Linked DNA regions of Homo sapiens: all the other regions are linked to region 3. The links are contacts of gene promoters, found by promoter capture Hi-C in human tissues and cell types (Jung and others, 2019). All regions are on one chromosome and are shown on one strand. Each heading gives the region's core, a stretch centred on a gene start or on the middle of the fragment in contact. The rest is flanking DNA. Distances are from core to core; before and after follow the strand shown.

The links. Contacts are between HindIII fragments. The study calls those that stand out against the background at their distance.
Region 1: a contact is called between a fragment that was not itself captured here and the fragment with the promoter of ZNF445 in region 3, in 1 of the 25 tissues and cell types used here (IMR-90 fibroblasts).
Region 2: a fragment that was not itself captured here is called in contact with the fragment with the promoter of ZNF445 in region 3 in 1 of the 25 tissues and cell types used here (aorta).

The regions. Positions count from the first base shown.
Region 1 is chr3:44,687,967-44,690,992 of GRCh38, reverse strand. No RefSeq gene overlaps it. Among named protein-coding and RNA genes, the nearest start is that of ZKSCAN7-AS1, 3.8 kb to the right of the region's middle. The HindIII fragment of the contact is 6,943 bases long and covers 1-3,026 here.
Region 2 is chr3:44,641,029-44,643,841 of GRCh38, reverse strand. It overlaps ZNF660-ZNF197 (ZNF660-ZNF197 readthrough), which reads right to left. Exons shown (of 8, transcript NR_147692.2): 8 at 1-1,942. It overlaps ZNF197 (zinc finger protein 197), which reads right to left. Exons shown (of 6, transcript NM_006991.5): 6 at 1-1,942. All of the region lies in intron 2 of ZKSCAN7-AS1 (ZKSCAN7 ZNF cluster antisense RNA 1), which reads left to right. Among named protein-coding and RNA genes, the nearest start is that of ZNF35, 6.3 kb to the left of the region's middle. The HindIII fragment of the contact is 6,969 bases long and covers 1-2,813 here.
Region 3 is chr3:44,476,334-44,479,167 of GRCh38, reverse strand. ZNF445 (zinc finger protein 445) reads left to right here and starts at 1,498. Exons shown (of 8, transcript NM_181489.6): 1 at 1,498-1,577. It overlaps LOC101928529 (a long non-coding RNA gene), which reads right to left and starts at 1,478. Exons shown (of 4, transcript XR_940785.4): 1 at 959-1,478; 2 at 499-586. RefSeq lists silencers at 1,521-1,680, 1,701-1,750. The HindIII fragment of the contact is 14,864 bases long and covers 1-2,834 here.

The DNA of each region.
Region 1 (3,026 bases), core at 267-2,766, 210 kb before region 3:
AGGGGACCCTATTTTGGTGTATTTCAAGGATTTGTTTCAAGATTTGGAGCTCCTTTTAGCAGTTTTTATAGTGCTGGCTTGGTAGTGATGAATTCTCTCAGCGTTTGTTTGTCTGAAAAAGATTGTATCTTTCCTTCATTTAGGAAGCTAAGTTTCACTGTATACAAAATTCTTGCCTGATAATTGTTTTGTTTAGGAGGCTAAACATAGAACCCCAATCCCTTATAGCTTGTAGGGTTTCTGCTCAGAAATCTGCTGTTAATCTGATAGGGTTTCCTTTATAGGTTCCTGATGTTTTTGTCTCACAGCTCTTAAGATTCTTTCCTTAGTCTTGACTTTAGATAACCTGATGAGTGTGTGCCTAGGCAATGATCTTTTTGCAATGAATTTCCCAGGTGTTCTTTGAGCTTCTTGTATTTGGATGTCTAGATCTCTAGCAAGACCAGGGAAGTTTTTCTCAATTATTACCTCTAATATGTTTTCCAAGATTTTAGATTTCTTGTCTTCCTTGGGAACAACAATTATTCATAGGTTTGGTCATTTTACATAATCCCAAATTTCTTAGAAGTTTTGTTCATTTTTTAAAATTCTCTTTTCTTGGTCTTTGATGAACTGGGTTAATTTGAAAGGCTTGTCTTTGAGCTCTGATATTCTTTTCCTTCTTGTTTGAGTCTATTGCTGAGACTTTCCAGTGCATTTCCAATTCTCTAAATGTGTCCTTGATTTCCAGAAGTTGTAATTTTTATTTATGCTACCTATTTCACTGGAGAGTTTCCCCTTCATATACTGTATCATTTAAAAAATTTTTTTTAAGTTGGACCTCATCTTTCTCTGATGCCTGCTTGGTTGGCTTAATAGTTGACTGTCTGAATTCTTTTTCTGGCAATTCACAGATTTTGTCTTGGTTTGGATCCATTGCTGGTGAGCTGGTGTGAAAGTAGTGAAAGTACAGCTACACCATAGACAAAGTAGGGTGTCCCTGAAAGTAAGAGGAAGAAAGTGTCCACCCTAGGTGCAATGATCATATATATGGGGAGATGTGCTCTGTCTGCTACAAGGGTTTGTGATGTAGGATTAATTTTTTAATTACTATATTTTGCAAGAAAGGATATTATTATTATTATTACTATTTTCAAGATAGAGTTTCACTCTTATTGCCCAGGCTAGAGTGCAATGGTATGATCTTGGCTCACTGTAACCTCCGCCTCCTGGGTTCAGGAGATTCTCGGCCTCAGCCTCCTGAGTAGCTGGGATTACAGGTGCACGCCACCACATCTGGCTAATTTTTGTATTCTTAGTAGAGACAGGGTTTTGCCATGTTGGCCAGTCTGGTCTCAAACTCCTGACCTCAGGTGATCCATCCACCTTGGCCTCCCATCATGCTGGGATTACAGGTGTGAGAAAGCCACCATGCCCAGCCTTTTAAGGGAAGGTTTTTTTTTTGGTTTTTTGTTTGTTTGTTTGTTTCTTTTTGAGACAGAGTCTCACTCTGTTGCCCAGGCTGGAGTGCAGTGGTGTGATCTTGGCTCACTGCAACCTCTGCCTCCCAGGTTCAAGATTCTTCTGCCTCAGCCTCCCAAGTAGCAGGACTACAGGCGCGCACCACCATACCCAGCTCATTTTTTTTTTGTATTTTTAGTAGAGACAGGGTTTCACCATATTGGCCAGGCTGGTCTCGAACTCCTGACCTCGTGATTCACCTGCCTCGGCCTTCCGAAGTGCTGGGATTACAGGTGTGAGCCACTGCACCCGCCAAGGGAATGTTTTATGGCCTGCTTCAGGGGAGAATCATGGGAGAAGGTCAGAGAGACCATCTTGCTTCTGCTGTTTTCTCAAATGGCAAGGTGCCATATTTTATGATAGTGTTTCATGAATCCTATCTCAGCCAACGAAGAATAGATAACCTAATTTTCCCCAAGAGTCTGAAAATGTTAAACTTTACCTGAGTCTGCTCTCCTGGAAAACAGTGACAATTAAAAATCCCCACACCCTTTAGTGTTCTAGGAAATGACTTCCTGCAAAGAGCCATCCTTCCCCATATGACTTAGATGAGACTCACAGATAGCCCCACCCCCTTGTTTGTCTAGACACAGACCCTCCAGATGATTTGCTTTACAAGTGATTAACTGAACTGTTTGTACCCATGACCAATTTGGACAGCATACCTGCTAATTTAACTTGACCAAGCTTTAGTTAAGCTCCTCTCCCTCCCCTAGGTCCTTAAGTTTTGACCTATCTTCGGCCTGAGCCAGTAATGAGATGTAGAACAACCCCTCCTTATTATAAGAACATGTGATGGTTAATTTTAGGTGTCAACTTGACTGGGTTAAGGAATACCCAGATAACTGGTAAAGCACTATTTTGGATGTATGTCTGTGAGAGTGTTCCTGGAAGAGATTGGCATTTGAATCTGTGTTCTGAGTAAGGAAAATGTGCCCTCACACAACATGGGTGGGCACCATCCAAAGGGCTGAGAGCCCAGGTAGAACAAAAAGAGAGAGGTGAATTCACTCTCTCTCTCCTGGAGCTGGGACACCCATCTTCTCCTGGACCTGTGAGACAGGAGTAGCACTGGGTAGTCACAGGAGTATGGAAAAACCTGAACAACAGTTAAAATAAGAACTAGGCAAAGAAACCACAGGATAACAGAAAACTCAAAATAAGGGAGAGAAAATGGCCAAAACCCTGGTCAGGCTGACATGTCCATGACTCTTCTTGGCAAACCCAAATAAGGGAGAAAGGGGGTGGTAATGGGGGGAATAGGGGGCTGGGAGGAGTCTCTGAAATCCCTTTCTTTTCCAAAATACTGAATGATTATTCCACCCCATAATTAAAGAAACACCCATAAAATTAGAAACTCGTTGTGTGTGACTCATTCTCATGAGCACACTCACACTTCTCTCTTAAGTGTGTACTTTTGTTTTGCAATAAAAGCTTCTTGCCTTTCACTTCATTCTGACTTTTCCTTGAATTCTTACTTGCAATGGTGTCATGAAGCTGGAAACCAGCTGGAGCTAGGGTCTCAC
Region 2 (2,813 bases), core at 276-2,775, 160 kb before region 3:
CATTTATAAGGTTTCTCTCCAGTATGGATTCTTTGATGTACCATAAGATTTCTACTAGAGGTAAGGACTTTCCTACATACATGACATTCGTAGGTTTTTTCTCCACTGTGAATTCTTTGATGTTCAATCAGGTTTCTGTTGTACGTAAAACCTTTTCCACACTCACTACACGCATAGGGCTTCTCACCAGTATGGATCCTCTGATGGGCTATAAGGTTTGAGCGGTAACTGAAGACCTTCCCACAGTCATTGCATTTATAAGATTTTTCCCTCGTGTGAATTCTCTGATGTCCAATGAGGCTTTTCTTCAGAATGAAGCATTTGCCACACTCATCACACTCATAGGGTTTCTCACCACTGTGGATTCTCTTATGCTCAATGAGGTTTCTGTTTGAACTGAAAGCTCTTCCACACTCACTGCATTCAAAGGGTTTTTCTCCGGTGTGGATTCTCCGATGTACAAGCAGGCTTGAATTGTAACTGAAAGCCTTCCCACAATCCTCACATTTGTAGGCTTTCTCTTGTGTATGGAGTTTCTGATGGACCATAAAACTTTTGCTCATAATAAAGGTTTTCCCACACTCTCGACATTCATATGGCTTCTCCCCATTGTGGAGTCTCTCATGGTCAATGAGGTTTCTGTTTGAACCGAAGACCTTACCACAATCTTTACATTCATAGAGATTCTCTCCAGTGTGGAACCTTTGATGTAAAATGAGGCTCTTCTTCAGAATAAAAACTTTCCCACATTCATTACATTCATAGGGCTTCTCCCCATTGTGGAGTCTCTGGTGGTCAAAAAGGTAAGCACTTTGAGTAAAGGCTTTCCCACATTCAGTGCATTTGTAAGGTTTCTCTCTGCTGTGCATCCTCTTATGGTCAATGAAGTTTGACTTAGAACTGAAAATCTTCCCACACTTTTTACAACCAAAGGTTTTCTTTTCTGTGTGGACTCTCTGATGTAAGAGGAGGCTTTTGCTTCGAATGAAAACTTTTCCACATTCTTTACACTTGTAAGGGTTCTCTGCACTGTGGAGTCGCTGATGGTCAATAAGATAAGTGGTCTGAGCAAAGGTCTTTCCACATTCATCACATTTATAGGGTTTTTCCCCAGAGTGGATTCTCTGGTGCAGAATGAGGCTCTTCTTCAGAATGAAAGCTTTCTGACACTTATTACATTTATAAGGTTCTTCCCCTTTGTGGAGCCTCTGATGGTCAATGAGGTAAGCATTCTGAGAGAAGACTTTCCCACATTCATTACACTTATAAGGTCTCTCCCCTGAATGGCGCCTTAGATGTATAATTAGGCCTGAGTGCCTATAGAAGCCCTTTCCACACTCCTTACACTTATAAGGTTTCTCCCCAGTGTGGATCCTCTGATGGTTTAGAAGGTAAGCACTTTGAGAAAATGCTTTCCCACATTCATTACATTTATAAGGTTTCTCCCCTGAATGGTTCCGTAAATGCATTAGAAGGCTCGAACGCTGAATAAAGCCTTTTCCACATTCCTTACATTTATGAGGTTTCTCACCAGTGTGGATTCTCCGATGGTTTATAAGATGGGAGATTTTATTAAAATGTTTACAACACATATCACATTTATAAAACTTCTTTCCTTCAGTACCTATTAAACTTTCAGAAATAGCTGAACCGAAAGTCAAGCTGTCTCCTAATTCCTTCCACTTTTGGCCTTGTTTCTCTGGTGGAGTCCTTTTCTTCTTGTCTCGTTCACAAAGGGAAACTTTCTTCACTGTATCTGCCCTTTCATCTGTTTCATTTCCCCACTGACTTGCCAAAACTTGCCATTCACACTCTTCTTCAAAATCAAGGACCTGGGGAACACTTCCTTGAAGTCTTTTTGATGTTCCTTTATGAGAGTCTGCTCTTTGAGAACTACTTGGCTTTGATGTCACCTCCTCATTCTCGGTCATGGTCTCCCATTCTGGTAAAAGGAATTAAAAATGCAAATGTTACCACGTCCCTGTGTTTGGAAGAACAGGATCTTCAAATGACTTTAAAACATTCTAGGAAGGCACACTTTAATATGCATACAAAAAGGAGAAACTTTTCATTAAAGGAAGGTACAAAGAATAATGCTACACTGACAAGATGTTGTAAATGGATTAACATACAACTCAGGTTGAGACATTTTTAAGTGCTTTGTCTTCAGGAAGCAGATAGAAAAATACAAATAATGCTGAGAAAACAGAAGCAAGGAAAACCAGAGAGAAAACACAGGATCTTATGGAGGTGGTTCACATCTAAGGAACTTGGATAGAAGAGCAAGAACCATTGGATTAGAAGTAACTTTCTTTATTATTTTCTTCATGTTAGAAGGATGGAAACTTTAAGGGAAGGAAAATATATGTAAGGACTCTGAAAGGCAATTTTTAATTTTTGAAAAGTCAAAGGCATGAATACTTTTTAACTGGTTGAAAGCAATTAACCAACAGAAAAGAAATCCATTGAAAAGCAACTTAATTCTTAGAATTCATATAACTCCTACTCCGTTTAAAATTAAGAAATGGAAATTTTAAAATTCATTTTAAATAGTCAGGTCTGTTATGAACTCCCTTAATTACACATAAAAGGTAAGAGAAGAAATACAGAAAAGAAAAGGGAAAATAGAATAAAAGTATGAAAACATCTGTAAAATGATGAGGCTAAACTAATATCCAAGGTTCCTATCTACTCCAATATTCTCAAATATTTTAAAGTATGAACAGTATGAAAATGTTTTGGAAGTTTACTTTCAAACTACCCAAGTGTGAGAGAAATTATGAGCCAGTTCCCCCAAACTGTCTAATAAGTAA
Region 3 (2,834 bases), core at 249-2,748:
TCTCAAACAAAACTTGAAAACTCTTCTCACCACTATGGGTGGTTCTGAGTCACTCAAGAACATTATATCGAGTGGAAATTAATGGACAAATTAGGCATTGACAAGCAGTTTCTATTTTCCTTTTTGTATGTGTTGGATATTTTCCAATTGCCCCTCCATATTCAGTCTCAGTCCTCAACCCTGCTGTGACACTTGGGAGACTGAGTTTCCTGGATTGCCCTCTGGCTTCCAGTTGAGTTGGGCCAATGGGAAGCCCTGGCAGGAGATCAGAAGAGAGCTGGGTTCAGGTTATTTATTACCTCAGCTTCCTTTGTGCTGGACTATGGCTTGGATGTAGCCCTCAACTGAAAGCCACAGTTTCTCTCAGATGGCCTGCTCCTAGGGGTGAGAATAGCTTCTAAATTTTGCTAGCCATGGGATTCTGCACCACTCCGTGTTGCATTTCCTTAACCCTGTCCACTTTGTGTAAATCGCCCCTTGTGAACTCTCCCCACTTACCTTGTTTGAATGTGCCATCTGTTTCTCTATCACCTTGTCACCATCTTCCTGGTGTTCAGGATCTATTCTCTGTTTCCATCTTTGGTGACTGGGGCATTAAAAAGGGGTGGATCAGATGAGTAAAGCAAAGCCTCAGGGCACAGATGGGCATCATCAATGCCCATCTGAAAGATCAATCGTCAACATGTTGCAGCCTGCCACTAGGAAGCACAAACCAGAGGACTACCAGGACAGCAGCTTGTAGCATGCCCTCCAATGGCAGCAGATGGCCTTATGGCTTTGGCTGTGCACCCTCAAGGTTCTCTGGCACTGGCAATAGATGACATTTGCTCCTACAGGGGGTGGGCAACCTCTCCAGGTTGCTTCACCTCCTCTTCAAGCAGCCCCTCCACCCCCTACCCCCAACCTACTCCTCCCAGATTCCACATATTATTGGGCAATGGCATCATTGTTCACTCACCAGGCGAGCCTAGTTAGAATTCACCCACAGGAGAAAACGAGTGAAGGCCGTGGGAAGCTAAAGTATGGTGCACCTCTGAGCTGGCTATGAACAAGTATTCCTGGGTATGGTGATGATGGGGATGAGCTCGTCTTGGAAAGGCAGGAGTTCTGGCACCTAGCTTCCCGTAGGATCTGGTTCCCCTCTTTGAAGTGTACCCAGGCGAAGAATGAGTGGCTCCCTTAACCCCTTCTCCTGGCCAGGACCAGTCTGCTAGATACTGCTGGCCCTATTTTCACCCCTAGCTTTGGATCCCTTTCTTCCCTGGAGGGAAAGAGGCCTTCAGGGCAGCCCCGCAGACACGACAGGAGGGATGCAAGAAAACAGGCGCGGCTGGGCATCCGAGCGTGGAAGGGAAATGTCCAACTGAGGGAGGTGAGGGATGTTGGACAAGCCCCGCCGCCCGCCGCACCGGAGCCGGAGAGAAGCAGAGACGTTGGGCCTCCCAGTTTCCTAGAGAGGCCGCGGAGGGCCCCGGGCGCCGACGCGCGTGCGCGACTGGAGCCGCCGGGAGGTAGGCGCGGGACGGGCGGCTGCGGTGGCGGCGGGTGGACCGATTGTCGCTCGGCGGCGGGAGTCGGTGAGAGGCCTGGCGGGGCGCGGGGGTGGGGGTGGCGGCATTGCGGGCGCGGGGCTCCCCGAAGTCCGCGGCATTCTCGGGCCTGCCCGGGCGGCGGACGGGGCCCGGCCTGGAGGCTGCGCCCGTGGCGGGGGTCTGGCGGTGGATCCCGCCCCCGCCACGCTGAGGGCGTATCTAGAACCTCTTTGCCTCCCAGGCGTCCGGGGTAGAGAATCTGGAGCCCGGGTTTCTCCGGGCTTTCTCGTTTCATCCAATTCTGCATATAAAGCGTATTTATCAGAGACAATTAGATAACACGGGAAAGTAGAAGAAAAGTAAAAGTAGCCGCAATCCTGAAATCTGTCTCCAGGCCTCCTGACATTTAAAATATCTGTGCATAATTCTGCACACTGACATCCATAAATATATATTACGAAATGAGAGCGTGCTCTTGCTTTTTAAAAAACCTGTTAGTATTATTGTGAGGAAACAATATTGTGCCAAAATAACACATAACATTTACCATACAATACATAAACGTTTACCATTTAACCATTTGGAAGTGTGTAATTCAGTGACATTAAGTATATCCATACTACTGCTTTTTAAAAATTATAATCTCCTGAATTTGTAGAATGCATTTGTTCTTATTTTGGCTAAAATTAGTGCTGGCATTATGACACCACTAAAACATTTTTTTTTTGGCGAGGATAATTAAGAAATCGTGTTTGCAGTTTATTTTCTGTAGGAGACACATTTGCATGAAGCTCTAAATGGTGAAGTGACATTTGTGCAGAAAAATAGCAAAATCTTGTTTGTCAGGGTGGTTATCTTTCACAATGAAGTAACTAGTATATAAAATGCAGTTTTTAAACAAAGGCAGAGCTCTAACCTGCAGCGATTGTAGCACACTCTGACTTGCACAGGCCTAAGAGATCAGAGTATTGTCTCCTTCCGAATTTAAAAGTGGTGGCCAGGAAAGAATGTTATTCTGTTTCAAACGGCTTGTAGTGCAAAACTAAAAACTCAGTATTAGGTTGGTTGTTTTGCAAGGAAGTGCCAGGGAGTGGTTTGAGCAGTAATTTGATTAAGCAGTTTCAGAGAGCCTCCATGTGTTGTGTGTGTGTCTGCGTGTGTGTGTGTGCATGCATGTGTGTGCATATTCAGGGACCAAAGAATTAGGCTGCTCTTTTATGTTATCTTAATGAAAGGCAGACACATTTTGGTTAGAAAAAAAAAAAAGTCTTACTGTAAGCCGAAAAGATGAGAATGTTTTGA